Linked DNA regions of Homo sapiens: all the other regions are linked to region 5. The links are contacts of gene promoters, found by promoter capture Hi-C in blood cells and fetal thymus (Javierre and others, 2016). All regions are on one chromosome and are shown on one strand. Each heading gives the region's core, a stretch centred on a gene start or on the middle of the fragment in contact. The rest is flanking DNA. Distances are from core to core; before and after follow the strand shown. Region 1 overlaps STAMBP (STAM binding protein). Region 2 holds the start of INO80B (INO80 complex subunit B). Region 3 overlaps C2orf81 (chromosome 2 open reading frame 81). Region 4 overlaps STAMBP (STAM binding protein). Region 5 holds the start of BOLA3 (bolA family member 3). Region 6 overlaps CCDC142 (coiled-coil domain containing 142). Region 7 overlaps AUP1 (AUP1 lipid droplet regulating VLDL assembly factor).

Region 1 (2,700 bases), core at 139-2,638, 300 kb after region 5:
AAAAAAAAAAAAAAATAGCTTGAAAAGTCAATTCTTATAAATAGCTTCAGGTATAACCAAATGTGAATCCAACCCTCAAATTCTCTGATCTAAAAACCTATGTTTTGGAGAGAATGTTCATTGTTCTTATGATTCTCACTCTAGACATAGCAGGTAGGCGACAGATTTTCTGTCCCTCAAGTCACTCTCTTCGACAAATAGGCTATATCTGTGTTACAACCCTGAGCCTAACCACTGGTGTTCTACTTTTTTGAGTTTCTGGTCTTTGCCCAAAAAAGGTGAAACAGCACATTAAAAGCACAGGATATATTGAAATGTCATATTACAATCCCAGGGCACAGCCTAAAAAAGCAAAATAATTTTCTTCTTAGCTGTTATATACTGACCTTTTCTTCATTATATTCTGTATATTCTTTGGTATATCGTTTTAACAGCTCTGCCTTCAGCTCTTCTGCTTTGGGAAATGCAATCTCCTTTAATTTCTGAGACACAAAACAGAAAATAGAATTAGAACAATGCCAGAAAATTACAGAATCCAAAAGAAGACTTAAGTCAAGTTGGTGACTGCAACATTTCCCAAAATGATTTAAAATACCCCCTACTGTACCATACCTGCTACTTCAGAACTGTTGTGGTGAAATGGCCTTATCTCCTATTGCAGGATCTGGTACTCAGATGCAGAGACTACTACTTTTATCTTGAAGTCAGTCTGTGCTGCTCTGAAGCTTTTAGATGGGCAACAATGAAAGTGAAGACCCACCTTTACTGTGTCTTTCTTTTCAGGAATGACAGCAGATTTGTAATCTCGATGTTTTGGTAGTTTCTCAATAAAGAGCCTAAGGAAACAGTTCAAAATGATTATGAAGCAAATGGTCCAAATGTCCATAAGACCCTAAAGCTATGCAACCCCCTTATCCTGAAGCCCTTATATGAAAGGTTCCAGAAGTGCAGCGGAGGGAGAGCTAATACACCCAGCTGGGCCATGCTCCTTTCCCATCTCTATCCCCCTAAAGAGCCAGAGTCTTTTCCTCTACTCCCAAACTAGGCAGCAAGCACCAGACTCCTACAATGAAAAAGATGGCCAAAAAAATTTTAAAAAGCCTTTCTTGTGCCCAAAAATGTACCTCCAAAGAAAGAGATCTTTTTCTTGTTGTGACGTGACAGGTTTTCAAAGGAAAGGGCTTCTGTCACATAGCAGTCTTCAGAGAACCGTTTGGCAGCCATGGGCAGGAAGCAAGAGAAAACCATGTTTCCTTACTCCTTCTAGCTCTTATGTAACCTTTAACTTTGGCTTTTTTCCTTTGGGATTCGTGTTCCTTCAAAGAAGAATACTACTTTGCATCATACAAAAATGCATGGAAATACTTAGTGCATGTGTTCTATGCATGTAGTATGTGCATATTACATGTTAGCATGCACTGTCTTTGATGAAAAGTGCTTAGGTAAATATAAGATGCTAGATTTCATCTTTTGGTTCTTGTCCATGGCTCTAAAGCTCAGTGGGGAGAATAAACTTAATTAATTCACAAATCTCTAACATTTAAGACATCTACTTAGGGGCAGTGAAAATAAATAAAAGTCCAGTAACCTGTCACAGAAAGAAAGTGGCAGATTCAGAATTTCAGTATGAGCAGGCTGGCTCCAGAGCCTATTCTTTTAACCACTACACCATACTTCTTCCATACGGATTCTGGAATGTCTAGAACTACTGGAGGGATTCTGAACAAAGATGTCTTTTAACAGAATTAAGTTGTAATACACAGAAACTGAGATAAAAAAATAAATTGAAGGTAGCTTGCTGATAGCTCTAAAATATTATATTGTAATTGGGATAAACTCTTTTCTACTTACTGCCCATGGGGCAGAAGTAATTGGAAGAAGAATCCTCAATAAAGAAAAAAGATGATCCCCACCAAAACAAACTTTCTAAAGATAAGTCCTCATCCTTCAGTTCTATATTAGGCACACAAGTTTCATTTTGATCCAACTTGATAAGGCTCCTCAAGGCAGGGATGGACTCTAAAATAAAAATGGTTCTTTAAAAAGCTTCCTTTTGGGTTCATGAAGAAGATATAAAAGAGGCTGGGTGCGGTGGCTCATGCCTGTAATCCCAGCACTTTGGGAGACCGAGGCAGGAAGACTGCTTGAGCCCAGGAGTTCAAGACCAGCCTGGGTAACAGGGTGAGACCTTGTCTCTATTTATATTTTTTAATTTATATATATATATACATATATATATATACATACACAAACATATATAACAAAACATAAAAAAACACAAAAATTAGCTGGGTGTGGTGGTATGCATCTGTAGTCCCAGCTGCTTGGGAGGCTGAGGCAGGAGGATCTCTCGATCCCAGAAGTCTGAGGTTACAGTGAGCTTTGATCACACCACTGCACTCCAGCCTGGGTGACAGAGGGAGATCCTATCTCTATTTGGAAAAAAAAAAAAAAAAAGAAAGATATAAAACAGTTTCCTTGAAGTCTATATTTAAAAGAAATACAGATTCATTTGTTCAAACCATAAAGTCCTGAAGAATCTATTAAGATAAATAAGACATATTTCTTATATTTTAGAGACTGATAGATGATTCAGTAGAACTCTCATCTTAGCCCCAAAAGCCAAGATACATATTAATATTTACTACCTTTAGCAGGCTGAATGTGCTTTGTATTGAGGCCTGAATCAGCTAAGAAAGT
Region 2 (2,700 bases), core at 151-2,650, 310 kb before region 5:
TCTTTTTGTCATAAACCATATAGCTTTTTGAAATTATTTACTTATTTACTTCCCAGCCCCCCAACACACACACTAGAATACTAGCTCCAGGAGAACAGAAACTTTGTCTTTTCTCTACTATCGATATCCCCAATGCCACGCAAAGTGCGTGGGTCGTGGAGAGTTCTCAATACTGTATACATTTGGTGAGTGAATAAACAATGAACCAACATACCTGTCGAGCAGTAAGCAGCCGCTCATTGATCTCCTTCTTGAGGTCTCCATTGTCATCCAGCTCCCCCTTCTCCAGGGCATCCAGCCACCTCTGTTCCTCCTCTTCCTCCTGACCCCCTAACCCTCCTGATAGGTCCCGAAGTGGAGAGGGAGAGAGATTACTGTCTTCATCTGGGAAGGAAGTTGGAGAAAGAAAAACAGAATTGTTCAGATGGGGCACCCTAATTTGGCTGAGTTAATACTGGGACATGGAAAATCCTAACCCATTTCAGAACCAACCTTCTTTCTTTAGGCGGGTATAATAAGAAACCCAGTTTCCCCACCTCCAGATCCTCACCCAGCCAGGCACGGTACTGCTCAAGGGGGACTCCTTCCATAGGTTCCTCTTCATTATCCACAACCATAAGGGGAGAGGGTGAGCGAGGCCCCTCTGGGATCACAGTGAAGGTAGGAACACTGCAGAGAAGCAACACTACTCTTTAAAATGAGCAAGCGTCTCCTCCTCCTACTCCGTAGCTACACCCAACTTTCCCCACCCTCTTAGACTCTTGCTGCCTAAATCTGGACCCTGAAGTCACAGTGTCCATTCGGTCTTCTAGAAAGCCCAGTCGGCTTCTAACTACTATCTCTGCTCCTAAAGTTCCCCTTATAAAACTATGACCCTCTTGGCCTCACCTCTTGGTCCCCAGGACTTGTCCCCCAAGCTTGATTTTGAGTTTGAGCTGAGGCTTGGCAGGGGACGGCTGCGTGGGCCCGGCGTCTTCTTCCTGATGGTGTTTCTTCTTGTGTTTCTTCTTGTGCTTCTTGTGTTTTTTCTTGTGCACTCCATGGCCATGGGCACCCGCCAGGCTCAACTCCAGGGCTTCTCCTGTGGAAGGAAAGCCTGTCGACAGTGTTTGGCCGGAGGGTGGCAGGGGAAGCCCTGAATAACCTAAGCCCCTACTGGATCCCACCCTTCCCGCAGTACTCGCTGTTACCATAACAACAGCACCGCCTTTCTCCTTGCCACCTGTGGCCGAAGTACCCTGGACTCTCCGAGGAGCAAGAACGGGACTTCTTTTCTAACACGACCTAAATTGCTTGATCTATTCGCGCTTACCCGGCTCAGGGGCCTCCATAGCCCCAGAGGTGCTCCCACGCCGCCACAGCTTACTCATGAGGTCCTGCGAGGAAAGGGGACTAGAAATGGTTGGGACACACGCAGACACGCCTTTTCCGCCCCGCGGAAAAACTGGAGCCAGCAAAACAACCAGTTACTTCCGGTTCATGGCAACCATCCTTGTGCGGGGCACGCTTCGCGTCCAAAATCGTCCCTGAGAAACGAGGATCCTTCCAACGAACGTTCCGGTCCCTCTGAGGTCGGGACAGCCCAAATGGGCAGGGCTTTCCCCTGGCTCCGCCTCCCCACGCTAGCTTTCAGAACTCAGCGCGGATGAGTCAATTATTGAACACAAGTTTGGTGAATGTATACACTAGACCAAGTGCGGGAAGCTAGTCTAAGAGGATGCAAAGATGAATATGAACACCGCCCCTGTCCTTGAGGAACTCACAGTTGGGTGGAGGAATACATAAACTATATTGATGACAAAATGGCCGAAATGGTTAAACAGCACGAGTGCCCTAAGAGCAGATGCAGTTTAGGTATTTAAACTTCAATTTTCATAAGTAGGGAAATGAATAAATGAATTACGGTGCAGCTGTACAATGCGGAACACCATATTGCTAAGAAAAGTTGAGTTGTAAGTAATTAATGAGATTGACACAGAATTTAAACAATCTAAGTGTCCTGATGAATTGGTGTATCCATACAGTGGGATGTTAAGCAGCTTGGAAAAGAAATGAGGCGCCCCAGAAGGCTATCTAGGAAATTGGTAAGAGTCATTTGCTGATGAGCATCTAGAGAACAAGGGTGGATGGCGACCTATTTTTTTATGATTATACCCTCTTGTGCCTTTTGAATTTTGTATAAAACGTGTATATTTTACCTCATTTTAAAAAAGACATAAAAACAGGTAGGTTTGTATGTGCTGATACACGAAATAAGAAAAGTAAATTTCCCATCCTGGCTAATACGATGAAACCCCGTCTCTACTAAAAATACAAAAAAAAAAAAAAAAATTAGCCGGCGTGATGGCACGCGCCTGTAGTCCCAGCTACTCGGGAGGCTGAGGCAGGAGAATCGCTTGAACCCGGGAGGTGGAGGTCGCAGTGAGCCGAGATCGCGCCACTGCACTCCAGCCTGGTCGACAGAGCGGGACTCCGTCTCAAAAAAAAGAAAAAAAAAAAAAAGTAAATTTCAAGATTATGTGATCTGATTTTTAAAAGCATAATATACTAGCAAATACATAGAAAAAATTGAGGAATGTATACCTGTTAATGTTGGTTAACTGTAGAAGTTGGGGTTGAGGAACTTTCACTATTTAGGTATGTAATGTATTTTCTTACAGCCAATATATATCACGTTTATAATTAGAAAATAACACCTAT
Region 3 (2,700 bases), core at 109-2,608, 270 kb before region 5:
CTCCAGCCTGGGTGACAGAGCGAGATTCCGTCTCAAAAACAAAAACAAACAAACAAAAAAAGATTACCTTTAATCATTGCATAATATTTCAGTATATATAGCATGTCAATTATTTATTCTCTTTTTAAAGACATGTTTTCAATATTCTGCTATTATAAAAATACCGCAGAGAATTTGTTGGAGAATATATTTTTATCTTCATTTCAGAAAATGCCTTTTGGTTGTATTTATAGAACTGAAATTGCAGGGTTGAGGAAGTGAAAACATTTTTTAATGTCTTCATGCATACTGTTGCAGCATGGTATCACACTAAACCTTTGCCAATGCTGAGTATTCTTGTTTTTAAAATAATTCCAATTTGATGAACTAGAAATCAGAATGTCAATACTATATTTATTAGTCATCTACAGTCCCTCTCTTGTGAAATGTCATGTCCTTTGCTTATCTTTGGGATCTTAAATGGTTTTTCTTCTTATAGTTTAAATTTTTATTGCAATATAGCCCAAGCTGGACTTGAACTCCTGGGCTCAAGCAATCCCCCTGCCTCAGCCTCCCGAGCAGCTGGTACTGTGGGTGTGCGCCACTGTGCCTGGCCATTTTTCTTCTTCTATTTTTTATTTTATTAGTTTTTTTTTTCTTTTTTGAGACAGAGTCTCGCTCTGTCACCCAGGCTGGAGTTCAGTAGCATGATCTCAGCTCACTGCAAACTCTGCCTCCCGGGTTCAAGTGATTCTCGTGCCTCAGCCTCCCTAGTAGCTGGAATTACAGGCGCCCACCACCATGCCTGGCTAATTTTTGTATTATTAGTAGAGACGGGGTTTCACCATGTTGGCTAGGCTGGTCTCGAACTCCTGACCTCAAATGATCCACCCACCTCGGCCTCCCAAAGTGCTGGGATTACAGGCGTGAGCCACTGCGCCCGGCCATTTTTTTTTTTATATGAGCTTTTAATTTACTCGGGGATATTTATCTTTTTTCATATTTGTTGCAAATGTCTTTGAGAGGCTCTGGAGTCAGACAGACTTGCATGTGAATGCATTCTGACTTCACTACATCCTACTTGTATGATACTGGGTAAATTACCATAAAATGGAGATAAGAATAGTTGGTTAAAAAAAAAAAATGTAGAGAACTTTTTAAGCTCCCCTGAGCCGGGGCTGTGCTCTTCTAAGTGGGACTCCGAGCCTGGGCTATTTCTGGCGCTGGCGCGGCTCCAGGAAGGCATCCGCATTTGCGACCAGGGGCGGCTGCGGTGGAGACTGGCCTGTCCTCAGCGCCCAGCACCGCTGCTCCCGGCAAACCGGAGCATGCACCGCAGGCCAGCGGCCGAGTTCGCCCATCCCAGCCATCACTTTTCCAACTAGTCCTTAGAGAAGGGAAGATGAGCGAGTCGAGCTCGAAGTCCAGCCAGCCCTTGGCCTCCAAGCAGAAAAAGGACGGCACTGAGAAGCGGGGCCGTGGCAGGCCGCGCAAGCAGCCTCCGGTGAGTCCCAGGACAGCGCTGGTAGGGAGTCAGAAGGAGCTCAGCGAAGTGCCAACACCTAAGAGACCTCGGGGCCGACCAAAGGGAAGCAAAAACAAGGGTGCTGCCAAGACCGGGAAAACCACCACAACTCTGGGAAGGAAACCAAGGGGAAGACCCAAAAAACTGGAGAAGGAGGAAGAGAAGGGCATCTCGCAGGAGTCCTCACTGGAGGAGCAGCTTCCTTCTGGGACTGGACAGCTTTGATCTGCTCCCAACCCCCCACCTCCCACCCCCCACCCCTTCCCTACACCCACCATCACCACCGCCTCCAGCCACCACCCTCATCTTCCACCTGCACCTTCACCACCACACTACACAACACACCAGCCGCTGCAGGTCCCTATGGGCTGAGTGGAGAGGACTTTTCCCCTGGCCTCTTCCCATCCCTACCCCCTCCTCCCCCCGTCCACCCACTCATACACATGTGCCCTCCTGGACAAGGCTAATGTCCTGCTTAGCCGCACCCTGCACCTGCTGCGTCCCTGATCCCTTGGTGGTGACATTGCTCTCTGGGCTTTTGGTTTGGGAGCCACTTCTCTGCTCCTCCACTGTTGCCTCTGGCTTCCCATAGAGGGGCCTGGGAGGGTTCCCCTGGTCTTAAAAGGGGCCCAAGCCCCCATTCTGGCACACCCCACTCCACTGTCCTGGCAGCAGCAGGTGTGGCCAATGGAGGGGGGTGCTGGCCCCCAGGATTCCCCCAGCCAAACTGTCTTTGTCACCACGTGAGGCTCACACCTTTCATCCTTCCCCACCTTCCCTAGTCCCTGCACTAGGTTGGACAGCCCCCATTGGCTACAGGAAAGCGGGAGGGGTGTGAGTCCCCTACTCCCTCTTTGCAGTGGCCCCAGCCCCCTTACCGTCTGCCTGGGATCTGAGTACATATTGCAGTGATGGAGATGCAGTCACCTATTGTCCAGGTGAGGCCCATGAGCCCTGTGGCAGCTACCTGAGGTGGGCTGGGGCTGCTCCCCCAACCCTACTTTGCTTCTACCACTTGGCCATTTTCCTCTCCTCAGATGGGGCACCAATAACAAGGAGCTCACCCTTCCCACTCCCAGCCCTCCTGCTCCTGCCACCCCCCCAGGTTCTGGTTCCATTTTTCCTTTGTTCACAAACTACCTCTGGACAGTTGTTTTGTTTTTGGTTCAATGTTCCATTCTTTGACATCTGTCATT
Region 4 (2,700 bases), core at 64-2,563, 280 kb after region 5:
ATATGAAAACGCTGCAAAACAACAAAAAACACACACAACAAATTGTGGGAAACAGACTATAGTTGCCACTGGAGTTCAAGGAAGGAAGCCCTCAGAGTGAACCTACCAGTGAGGGAAGGCACTAAAGGAACTGGAAGGACAGAGCCCATGGTTATGTAGCGTCACAGTGCTGGATTCTGGATCTAACAGGCTGATTGAATGATGCCGGACACACCTGTAAGTTAAGGCCCAGCTTCTAATCTCAAACAGGCTAAGGTGAACTAAAAATTGAACCCTGGATTAAGGGGTGAAGACTTCAGTGAAGAGGGCCAATGTTCTGCCCTTCCTTCATCTCAAGAAGTAGTTGGAACAACAAAAGTGGGAGGTTCAAACAAGAGTGGGCTGGAGCCAAGGGAAAATAGAGATGATGTAATTTCTTTAGGTCCTGGGTCTGCTCTGGGTCTTAGGGAGAATGAGTAGAAATTTGGAATGGTTCTTGAGGTCCTCAGTTTTCCTGCTCAGAACATCAAGGTAGACCAGATAGCTTTGGAGTCAAAGCCTAGCTAGTGCTAAAGAATGTGGATCTGCCCAAAGATTCCTCTAGCTGTATGCTGAATGGGCAGAGGTCCAGAAGATAGAAGCAACCGCACCCCAACTGTAACATTTCAAGAAAGACAAGTAACAAATCCCTTATATCTTTATAGCATCTTTCAACTAACGTAGGCCTCATATGCATATAGATGTCATTCTGTCATCATTTGAGGTAGGCATATTAGACTGATCCCATTTTACAGATTTTAAAGAAATTTAGGAAGTTAAGTGATTTGCTGGTGAATGTATAGCTGGGCCTAGAAGCAAAGCCTTAAATGTTCAACCTGGCACTTCCCCTGGAGAGGATAATATTCCAATAGTCCTGATCTAAACAGGATTTCCAGTGCCCCAAGCAAAGCTCCTCAGAAAAAGACATGATCCTTGACTCAGAAGTTCTACTCTGGGCTCACATGTTTGAAAGATCCTTGGACAAACTGGTCTCCAAACTCAGGTGGGGTTAAAACACTGAGATATGAGGGATGGGAGGCACAATATCAATAGCTGACTCTATTTTCTAGGGAACAACATCTACTCTGGTCCTAAAACTGTGTTCTCAAAATCCACTGGAAACATATCAAAATTGCAGGATTCACCAGACTTTCACTCATTAAAGCTTTGCTCCTAATAGCCTCCATTCTTCTCAACCCCAATATGAAAAATTTCTCTTTCAACTGGGGTAACTAAAACCCCAAAGAAGCCATCAACAGTCAAAAGGGATAGGCACTTACAATTTTAAATTCTGTGGTACCAAATGAAAGCTGAAATCCTTGCCTCTCAAGCAAGAAAATCCACCATGACACTGGCCCAAGGGAATGTTTCTCTCATGCTGCCTTTTATGGTATCTGGTACCCAAGACAATATTACAAAAGCTTAAGGGTTTCTTCTTCTTCCCCTTTGGTCCCATTTAACAAGGAGTATGTGAAAGTGATCATCTGAAAAAACCCAGCTCTGCTCTGACCCCAAGCAAATCAGCTCCTCTGATTCTCTCTGCACCTGGCCTATGGCACTTTGGTAGGTTTGTGCCTCCCAGGGCAACTGGGACATTGTTTGGCAACCTGACGATGCTTTTGTCTCCCCTCTCAGCCCAGAACACTAAGTATGGTACTTGTGCAGCTTGCAAGAGTGGAAAAGTCTCCTGGTCTTTGAGCCTCGGGAACCCAGGAGTCAGTCCCTTTAGCCAAATAGTCATTACCCTTTCAATACAATGTCTTTCCTCAGGTTGCGTGGTCTTTGTCCCTTTTACCCACAGTATTCCTTTCCTCTTTTCCCGACCGCTCTGGCTACTCCTCTTTCTCTCCGGCCTATCCAGTCTCAGGGCTTGTGGGCTGGCTTGATTCCACGTCTCCTCCACAGAGGTAAGATGAAGACAGAGACACTTAGACCATCCTATGCAGAGTGCCTCTGCAGTGGCTAGGCTGCAGCAGATATGAAGAGGGATCTACAGACTGATTTCCTGCACCCATCTAGCCACTAAGATATCTTGTGCCTAGAGGAAGAGAAAAGAAAATATAGCAGTTTGGTGATCAGTCTGTGATCAATGTGGTTGCAACGTATGATATGTTGTTGACCTGGCTGAATGTCTTTGGTGGGCAGAGACGGATAAGAGAGCTCACAATTCTTAGGTATCAAAGACCAATGCAGTGGTTGTCAACCCTGGTTGTACTTGAGAATTCTAGCAGCTTGAAAGACAAATGCAGAAACAACATCTGAGGCTCCACCCTAGAGATTCAGCTTTAATTGGTGGGGGGTAGAACACAGGCATCAGTATTTTTTAAATTGCTCCCTAGATATTTGAATATATAGCCAGGGGTAAGAACTTTAAGTGGAAAGTTCTGACTAAAAGCTAAATTTAGATTTTCAGCAATGGGAAGCTATTGCAGGTTTTTGAGCAAGAGAGAAAACATGAACATGGCTGGAATGTGAGAAGCTTCTCCTGATCAAAGTGTGCAGAACAGACTGGAATGAAGAAATGCTAAAAACAAAGAGACTTGGTAAAAGCCAACGGCTACAGTCGAAATAAAAGGTAAGAAAGCCCTAAGCTAAGTGGTAGACAAAGAATGGGAAGAAGGGGATGGATTTCCCAAAAGCAGAGGACTGGGCAATTTCAGGACTGTTTAGAGCAAGGTGGAA
Region 5 (2,700 bases), core at 156-2,655:
TAGCCAGACTTGGGTCCTGTTTCCATTCCTAAAGCTGGGGATAGGTGCGCCTCATCTAAACCATGCTGTCTGAATAGCAAGGGAATGGTTCACCATTACTACCCTGCTTGAGAAAAAATTTTTTTGACAGTTTAAATTGCATCATTGACAGCAATGAAGAAAACTTAGCAAATCATCTCTAAACATTTTAAAAGAATGAAGCAGAAAATGTAAGACAGGCTAGTAATTGATCCAAAGGAGAAATTCTGAAGGCCAGAACATAGGAGTCAGTTAATACTGTAATAAATAAATTAGACAATATCCATATATAACAACTATAGGTCCAATCCATCCAAGTGCAACGCTGAAGGGACGTATTGATTGCATAGGCCAGAATGTTGGCAAAAAGCTGGTAAATCCTGCAGGGTGCCACCAGACCGCGTGCTGCAAACAAATAACAGCTAGAGAGAGGAGAGGCTTGGTTGAATTTCGGCCTTGACTGGTCTGAAGACTCCAGAGGCGGGACGAATTTGCGGACAGTTCTACCCCATCCCACATGGCGTCAGCTTCCCTTCCATTCTCATGACTCCATGGTCCATGGCTCCAACCTGGGCCTCTGTTAGGCTGTGTCCTGTGGCACCTTAAACTCAGGCAAATTAAGAACTGTTCGTGGACTCTGCTCAGCCCCCACCTAACCCTCCATCCAAGTCATTGTCCAAGCCAGAAACTGGAGTCATCTCAGATACCTTCCCACTCACACCTCCACATGCAGTCGCTCGATTCCATTCACCTCCCAAGTGTCTCAGTTCATTCTTCCATCCCTCCCGCCACTGGTTTAGTTAGGCCCCTCCATTCTCACCTGGACCATCGCGGTAGCCTCGGAGCTTCTGACTGTGTCTCTGGTTGCAGCCCCTACACGCTCTCTTCCTTACAGGAGCGGAGCGATCTTTCTCAAGCGCGAATCAAATCCTTCCACGAGTCCCCGCACCTGGAGCGAAGGCCAAACTCCTCAGCTTAGAAGCTAGACTGCCAGAGTAGGGAGTGGGAATGGAAAAGTACATCAGGAGCACGAGGGGTATTCGGATGAGGGAAGGCCAGTATAGGGCGCCGAGACCTTGGAGTGTTTCTGAGCTGAGGAGGAATGAGACTTTCACGCGGGCAAGGGGACCCTATCCATGAAACAGGCCCTGGGGAGACTGAAGGAGAGCGGCGCGAGCGAAGGCAGAGGGCGGGGCCCCGAGGTCGGCAGGCGCTGCAGTGTCGGGGGTGGCGAGTCAGCCAGGGCCAGGGGATGGCGGGGTGGGGCCGGAGCCAGGCGACCGGAGGCCTCCGGGGCGGGGCCGGGAGGCTGACGGCCTCCGGGCGGCAGGGGGCGGCCTCTCCCACGGCGGCGGCTCTCGGTCCCCCGCTCCGCGTCTTTCGGGCATACAGTGACCTCGGGCGGCGGGTCACGTCGGCCGGGCATGGCTGCATGGAGCCCGGCCGCGGCAGCGCCTCTCCTCCGCGGGATCCGCGGGGTGAGCGTGGGCAGGGTCGGGGCTGCTCTCCCCGGGACGGGAGCTGCGGAGGGACCGCGGGGCCGGCGGCTGTCGGGGCTTGAGGACTGGCTCCCGGAGGGCGCGCGCGGCACTGGCAATGGGGGGCTCCTCTTCCTTTCTCTCATTCATTCTTTCATTCATTCATTCACTCAGCGACAACGGCATTCGAAATTTCAAGCTCTGGCGCGCTCTAGGGGAGCTCCCGAGCTGGGTGGAGGTTGGAGGTCAGGCGGACAGACACATGAACAGTCATAATACTGCGGGCACAGGAAAAAAAAAGGATTGGTTTACCGAGCAGAAGACAGGAGTCATAGCCCAGAGTCAAGGCGTGGGTGCGAGGGACTGCAGCGGGGCCGGGGCCTTGGGAAGGTCGACTGGGCCTCTGACCTTGATCCTCCTCCAAATCCCACACTACCGGAGCAGAACCCAAGCAGGGGGCACTTCCCACGCGCTCTCCTAATCTCTCCCCCTTTCTGAACCATCCTTTGCTTCAGCTCATACCATTCTTTCTCTTAACTTTCATTTTCCTTCTCCCCTGGTTCTGAACCTGCCTGCCCTGTGCATGAAGAGAAGTTCTTCCACTGCGGTGACTTTCAGCGTGGACAGTGATCATCTGGGGATGTCAGTTGATTGTTCCACTAAAGGCCGCTGCCCACAGATCCGCTAAGATGAAAGGCTTCTCCCAAGGATTCTGCAACGCTCACCTCTCTCACCCCTTAGTAGCTGCCGATTCTGTCTGCCATCTGGTTACTCTCTGCCTTTACCCTCAAGATTCTGCCCCCAGAAGCAGCTCCACCCCACCCTCACTCCTGGCAATCCTGTCCAGCCTCTCAACATCGAGTTTCTGTCCCTCCACACAGCAGGCAGACAATCACACTCTGGACCTTTCTCCTGTCTTGCATTTCTGTCCCTAATTGACTAGTTCTTCCCCTGCTCATTCATTCATCCAGCACCAAGTGCCTCTGAGGGCCTGCCCTGGGGTCAGCTCTGGGATGCTGCCGGACTCATTCCTGGCCTATAAGACCAGTGGTGAGAGAGCCAGTGCACAGCTCATTTTAAAGGAGGTGCTCTGAGATTCTGTGACACAGGACCCTGCTCTGAGCTATCAGGAAGGACTGAGGGGTAGAGGGGTGGGACCTTCAGCACCAGCACCCATGAACGGCCCTAGTGTCCTCCAACCTGT
Region 6 (2,700 bases), core at 58-2,557, 330 kb before region 5:
AGTGATTCTCCTGCCTCAGCCTCCTGAGTGGCTGGGATTACAGGCGCCTGCCACCACGCCCAGCTAGTTTTTGTATTTTTAGTAGAGATGGGTTTCACCATGTTGGCCAGGCTGGTCTGGAACCCTTGACCTCAGGTGATCCACCCACCTCAGCCTCCCAAAGTGCTGGGATTATAGGTGTGAGCCACCACACCCGGCCAATGCCCAGCTACTTAAAAAAATTTTTTTTTTTGTAGAGACAAGGTTTTGCCATGTTGCCCAGGCTGGTCTTGAACCCTTTTTAAAAATCTTTTTAAAAAACTTTTTTGGGAGGCCAAGGTGGGTGGATCGCCTGAGGTCAGGAGTTCAAGACCAGCCTGCCCAACGTGGTGAAACCCCGTCTCTACTAAAAATACAAAAAAGTAGCCGGTATGGTGGCAGGTGCCTGTAATCCTAGCTACTTCTGAGGCTGAGGCAGGAGAATCGCTTGAACCTAGGAGGCGGAAGTTGCAGTGAGCCGAGATAGCGCCATTGCACTCCAGCCTGGGCAACAAGAACAAAAATTCTGTCTCAAAAAAAAAACAGAAAACAAAAAAATTTTTTGTCCAGGTGCAGTGGCTCACACCTGTAATCCCAGCACTTTGGGAAACCGAGGCAGGTGGATCATCTGAGGTTAGGAGATCAAGACCGGCCTGGCCAACATGGTGAAACCCTGTCTCTTCTAAAAATACAAAAATTAGCTGGACATTGTGGTGTACACCTGTAATCCCAGCTACTCGGGAGGCTGAGGCAGGAGAATCACTTGAATCCGGGAGGCGGAGGTTCCAGTGAGTCGAGAGCGTGCCATTGCATTCCAGCCTGGGCAACAGAGTGAGACTCAAAAAAAAAAAAGTATATATATATATTTTATTTATATTATATCTATATATATTTTATTTATATTATATCTATTTATATATATATATATTTTTTTTTTAATTAGAAGTTTGGCTCGTGACATAGCCCTCAGGAGATCTGAGAACATGTGCCCTGTTCTTGAACTCTTGAGCTCAAGCAATCCACCGCCTTGGCCTCCCAAAGTTCTGGGATTACAGGCATGAGCCTCCACACCCAGCCTGGCTCCCAGAGTTCTAGTTAAACATCTGCATTTGCCTGTTGGGCATTTCTACCTCAGTTTACTGCTGTCTACTTAAACTCAACATGCCCCAGAGCAGGCTCATCATGAGTACTGCACACAGTGACGGTCATAGAGCCCTGAGGAAGGAAGGCTATAGTGGGCATGTGGTTAAAGAACGCTCCATACATGGCCTATGGCTGGAGATGGTGGCTGGGAAGCCTCAGAGGAGTGGCTGGGGTTACTGGAAGTGGGCAGTTTGTAGATCCTTGTGGGGGTAGCAGAGAGGTGGCCTTACCAGAGCAGAGGTTCCTTTTGTGGGTATGTTCACTGGGGTTGGGTGTGGGGTAGGGTAGTAAGCAATTTGGCATCAAATTGTGGAGGGCATGAACACCAGCCCCAACAATTTGCGCTTTACCTCATAAGTGAGGGGGTGACATTTTAAGAGCAGAAGGGTGTAATCCCAGCATTTCGGGAGGCCGAGATGGGTGGATAACTTGAGGTCAGGAGTTTGTGACCAGCCTGGCCAACATGGTAAAACCCCATCTCTACTAAAAATACAAAAATTAGCCAGGCATGGTGACGGGTGCCTGTAATCCCAGCTGCTCAGAGGCTGAGGCATGAGAATCGGTTGAACCCAGGAGGCAGAGGTTGCAGTGATCTGAGATTGCGCAACTGCACTCCAGCCTGGGCAATAAGAGCGAAACTTGGTCTCAAAAAAAAAAAAAGAGGCATTGTGAGTTTTCTTCCTGTTTGGACTATAAGATCCCAGTGGGTGGGGGAGAGACTGTCACACACTCTGCACCTTGTATTCCCTCAGTGTTGAGTACAGAGGCTCCTAACAAAAGTCCGTTGACAAAAGGGCAATTTCCTTGACATAAATAAGGGAGGAGAAGGGGGCTTGCATTTACTGGAGAAGAGAGGAAGATTTTGGATTTAGACAGGTTGTCAGATGTGCCAGGAGCCATATGGGCTCCACTCCATGTCTGGCCGCCCCCAGGTCTATCCTGTCTTCAGGCTCCCTGGCATCTACCATTTCTTTACAGAGCAGCTGCCATTAACCACATTTACTGGGGTTCCTCTCCCTCAAGATGGGCTGTAGAGCAGAAACCAGCTTTATTGCTGTGTTCTCTCCCTCCAAAAACAACCTATCAAACCAAAGAAACAAACCCAGCATATAGGCCTTTTCTTGCTTTATGGGTTATATTGCTCTGGAGTGGGCTGTGAAGAATAATAATATATAATAATGCCTTTCAATGTAAGGACATTCCAAAACTTCCTGAGTCTCAGAACATTCAAATAGTCATTGCTTCTGGTTTACATACAGTTCTTGTCTTCCTTTTGTAGGTGATAACCAAAAGATCATTGTAGGCTGGGTGTAGTGGCTTAGTGGCTCACATCTGTAATCCCAGCACTTTGGCAGGCAGAGGCAGGCCGATCACCTGAGATCAGGAGTTTGAGACCAGCCTGACCAACATGGCAAAACCTTGTCTTTACTAAAAATACAAAAATTAGCTGGGTGTGGTGGTGCACTCCTGTAGTCCCACCTACTTGGGAGCCTGAGGCAGGAGAATCACTTGAACCCGGGAGGCAGAGGTTGCAGTGAG
Region 7 (2,700 bases), core at 27-2,526, 380 kb before region 5:
GGGAAGAGACCGATCCCCGCGTGCTCTCGGCCTTCGGCGCCTGACCACTTCGCCTCTCGCCCCCAGGCTTCCGGGTGACTGCTTCCTACTGCTCGTGCTGCTGCTCTACGCGCCAGTCGGGTTCTGCCTCCTCGTCCTGCGCCTCTTTCTCGGGATCCACGTCTTCCTGGTCAGCTGCGCGCTGCCAGACAGCGTCCTTCGCAGGTTCCGACGCGGGCGTTCGGGGAGTGTCAGAGCTGGGTCTGGCCCGAGGCCACACAGTCACCACCTCCTGTGTCCCCAGATTCGTAGTGCGGACCATGTGTGCGGTGCTAGGGCTCGTGGCCCGGCAGGAGGACTCCGGACTCCGGGATCACAGTGTCAGGGTCCTCATTTCCAACCATGTGACACCTTTCGACCACAACATAGTCAATTTGCTTACCACCTGTAGCACCGTGAGTGAGAGCGAGGCCGAGAGCGCCACGGGGCGGTTCCCTGGGGCCCAGCTGAAGGCCCCCCTGTCCCCACTCGCGTTCCCCATGGAGGATACTGAGCCTTACCCCTAACCCCGATCCTCTACCCAACATGTCAGTTTTTTTTTTCATTTTCCTCAATATTTTTCTTCTTGCTTTCTCTTCTCCTGGTTCCCAGCCTCTACTCAATAGTCCCCCCAGCTTTGTGTGCTGGTCTCGGGGCTTCATGGAGATGAATGGGCGGGGGGAGTTGGTGGAGTCACTCAAGAGATTCTGTGCTTCCACGAGGCTTCCCCCCACTCCTCTGCTGCTATTCCCTGAGGAAGAGGCCACCAATGGCCGGGAGGGGCTCCTGCGCTTCAGGTGGGTTTAGCACAGGTATGGGGCGCCAGCTGGGTAGGTGGTCAAGCTTGTGGGCCCTTGAGTTTTTACAACTTTCTTCGGCCCTTAGACCCCATCATCTCCAGTTCATTTCCTTTCTGTCCACTTTAAGTTCTTTCTCCTGAATCCCTTCATTCTTCAATTATGTGCTTGTAGAGTTTGACAGTTGCCTGTTATAAGGCAGGTGTGAGCTGCTGACTAGGCTGGCTGGATTCCCATCCTACTTTCTCCTTCCTCTTCTAGTTCCTGGCCATTTTCTATCCAAGATGTGGTACAACCTCTTACCCTGCAAGTTCAGAGACCCCTGGTCTCTGTGGTGAGTGTGTGTTGAACAGGGAATCTCTGGGGCTTGAAGGGGAAATTTCCCATCCCTGGCCCTGGCTTAGGCCTCATCTCATGCCCTCCCCTCAGACGGTGTCAGATGCCTCCTGGGTCTCAGAACTGCTGTGGTCACTTTTCGTCCCTTTCACGGTGTATCAAGTAAGGTATTAACTGTCCTCACATTTTGGTCGCTGGGGAGAGGCTCACCTCAAGGTCAAGGAATTAGTGGCCTCTGCCCTGTCCATTTGTAGATCTTTATATCAAGGTTCTACCACAGAGGCAACACAAAGTATTTACAGTATTTACTATTTTCCCACCCACCATGCAAAGAGGTACCAAAGTGGGGAATGGTGACAGCCTCTACCCTGGGTGCCCACAACATAGCCCTGGATTGTTTCTTTGCAGGTGGCTTCGTCCTGTTCATCGCCAACTAGGGGAAGCGAATGAGGAGTTTGCACTCCGTGTACAACAGGTGGTCGGGTGCACAGACAGGGTGGAGGCGGGGTCCCTGCTTAGGAGGAGAGGGAGGAAAGCTTGAGATCTTGACACTTCCAGTCTTCCAATTCTCCCTAGCTGGTGGCCAAGGAATTGGGCCAGACAGGGACACGGCTCACTCCAGCTGACAAAGCAGAGCACATGAAGCGACAAAGACACCCCAGATTGCGCCCCCAGTCAGGTATGTGGTCTCTATACATTACAGCTTTTGGGGTTTTTTTTTTTCGGCCTACTGTGATTCCTCCCCTATTTCTGTGCTAGTTAGCCTCTCCTTCTAGTTCTCTACTTACCAGAATTTCTTTTTTCTTTTTTTCCTTTTTCCACAGCCCAGTCTTCTTTCCCTCCCTCCCCTGGTCCTTCTCCTGATGTGCAACTGGCAACTCTGGCTCAGAGAGTCAAGGAAGTTTTGCCCCATGTGCCATTGGGTGTCATCCAGAGAGACCTGGGTATGGGAAAGGGTGGCCCCACACTGGGAGATGGGCACAGGGAGGAAAAGTGGGTTGTGAAGGAAGAAAGTAAGTAGGGAGTGGACTCCCTTCTCTTTTCTCCCCAGCCAAGACTGGCTGTGTAGACTTGACTATCACTAATCTGCTTGAGGGGGCCGTAGCTTTCATGCCTGAAGACATCACCAAGGGAACTCAGTCCCTACCCACAGCCTCTGCCTCCAAGGTGAGACCCAGGAAATGGTCAGATCCAAGTGTTGGGGTGAGTTGGGGGCAGGCTATGTACTCCCTTATCCCTGACCTTTCTTTTTTGATCCTGAGACCCTAGCATAGTGCCTCTCTTGCAAAGTAGGCATTCGATGCGTGTTTAATGATGATGACTCCGCAAGCCCTCTGACATTGTGATCACCTCAGTTTCCCAGCTCTGGCCCGGTGACCCCTCAGCCAACAGCCCTAACATTTGCCAAGTCTTCCTGGGCCCGGCAGGAGAGCCTGCAGGAGCGCAAGCAAGCACTATATGAATACGCAAGAAGGTGAGGGGGTTAGAGGACAATTAATAGGATGTGGCAAATTGGAGAATGGAATTATGGAGCTACTACGGCAAAGCC

The links. The method cuts DNA at HindIII sites, captures the fragments that hold promoters and counts their contacts. A CHiCAGO score of 5 or more calls a contact.
Region 1: a contact is called between a fragment that was not itself captured here and the fragment with the promoter of BOLA3 in region 5, in 17 of 17 cell types (activated CD4 T cells, naive CD8 T cells, total CD8 T cells and 14 more). The highest score is 21.2, in activated CD4 T cells.
Region 2: the fragment with the promoter of INO80B here is called in contact with the fragment with the promoter of BOLA3 in region 5 in 11 of 17 cell types (fetal thymus, total CD4 T cells, naive CD8 T cells and 8 more); the score reaches 12.5 in fetal thymus.
Region 3: a contact is called between a fragment that was not itself captured here and the fragment with the promoter of BOLA3 in region 5, in 3 of 17 cell types (activated CD4 T cells, non-activated CD4 T cells and naive CD4 T cells). The highest score is 6.2, in activated CD4 T cells.
Region 4: a contact is called between a fragment that was not itself captured here and the fragment with the promoter of BOLA3 in region 5, in 17 of 17 cell types (activated CD4 T cells, naive CD4 T cells, total CD8 T cells and 14 more). The highest score is 28.6, in activated CD4 T cells.
Region 6: a fragment that was not itself captured here is called in contact with the fragment with the promoter of BOLA3 in region 5 in 1 of 17 cell types (naive CD8 T cells); the score reaches 5.9 in naive CD8 T cells.
Region 7: a contact is called between a fragment that was not itself captured here and the fragment with the promoter of BOLA3 in region 5, in 1 of 17 cell types (non-activated CD4 T cells). The highest score is 5.1, in non-activated CD4 T cells.

What each region holds. Positions count from the first base shown.
Region 1 is chr2:73,842,949-73,845,648 of GRCh38, reverse strand. STAMBP (STAM binding protein) reads right to left here. Exons shown (of 10, transcript NM_213622.4): 3 at 761-836; 4 at 387-482. The region is part of intron 1 of LOC112268419 (a long non-coding RNA gene); the gene reads left to right. Among named protein-coding and RNA genes, the nearest start is that of STAMBP, 15 kb to the right of the region's middle. The HindIII fragment of the contact is 1,321 bases long and covers 728-2,048 here.
Region 2 is chr2:74,453,787-74,456,486 of GRCh38, reverse strand. INO80B (INO80 complex subunit B) reads right to left here and starts at 1,400. Exons shown (of 5, transcript NM_031288.4): 1 at 1,313-1,400; 2 at 889-1,081; 3 at 551-669; 4 at 215-384. The coding sequence starts at 1,370. INO80B-WBP1 (INO80B-WBP1 readthrough (NMD candidate)) reads right to left here and starts at 1,464. Exons shown (of 8, transcript NR_037849.1): 1 at 1,313-1,464; 2 at 889-1,081; 3 at 551-669; 4 at 215-384. RefSeq lists an enhancer at 1,297-1,886. The HindIII fragment of the contact is 3,309 bases long and covers 920-2,700 here.
Region 3 is chr2:74,417,124-74,419,823 of GRCh38, reverse strand. All of the region lies in intron 1 of C2orf81 (chromosome 2 open reading frame 81), which reads left to right. It also overlaps the pseudogene HMGA1P8. Among named protein-coding and RNA genes, the nearest start is that of C2orf81, 3.1 kb to the left of the region's middle. The HindIII fragment of the contact is 4,299 bases long and covers 1-2,700 here.
Region 4 is chr2:73,863,700-73,866,399 of GRCh38, reverse strand. STAMBP (STAM binding protein) reads right to left here. Exons shown (of 10, transcript NM_213622.4): 10 at 1-2,700. Among named protein-coding and RNA genes, the nearest start is that of ACTG2, 28 kb to the left of the region's middle. The HindIII fragment of the contact is 256 bases long and covers 1,186-1,441 here.
Region 5 is chr2:74,146,617-74,149,316 of GRCh38, reverse strand. It overlaps BOLA3 (bolA family member 3), which reads left to right and starts at 1,405. Exons shown (of 4, transcript NM_212552.3): 1 at 1,405-1,496. The coding sequence starts at 1,443. It overlaps BOLA3-DT (BOLA3 divergent transcript), which reads right to left and starts at 1,336. Exons shown (of 3, transcript NR_045636.1): 1 at 1,094-1,336; 2 at 839-967; 3 at 1-619. RefSeq lists an enhancer at 992-1,651 and a silencer at 1,185-1,664. The HindIII fragment of the contact is 11,442 bases long and covers 1-2,700 here.
Region 6 is chr2:74,476,244-74,478,943 of GRCh38, reverse strand. The region is part of intron 5 of CCDC142 (coiled-coil domain containing 142); the gene reads left to right. Among named protein-coding and RNA genes, the nearest start is that of MRPL53, 4.9 kb to the right of the region's middle. The HindIII fragment of the contact is 6,387 bases long and covers 1-2,700 here.
Region 7 is chr2:74,526,866-74,529,565 of GRCh38, reverse strand. AUP1 (AUP1 lipid droplet regulating VLDL assembly factor) reads left to right here. Exons shown (of 12, transcript NM_181575.5): 2 at 67-204; 3 at 284-434; 4 at 631-815; 5 at 1,077-1,149; 6 at 1,245-1,318; 7 at 1,560-1,626; 8 at 1,728-1,830; 9 at 1,976-2,095; 10 at 2,203-2,318; 11 at 2,507-2,625. It also overlaps a transcript of HTRA2 not described here. Among named protein-coding and RNA genes, the nearest start is that of AUP1, 1.5 kb to the left of the region's middle. RefSeq lists enhancers at 1-414, 1-416. The HindIII fragment of the contact is 826 bases long and covers 864-1,689 here.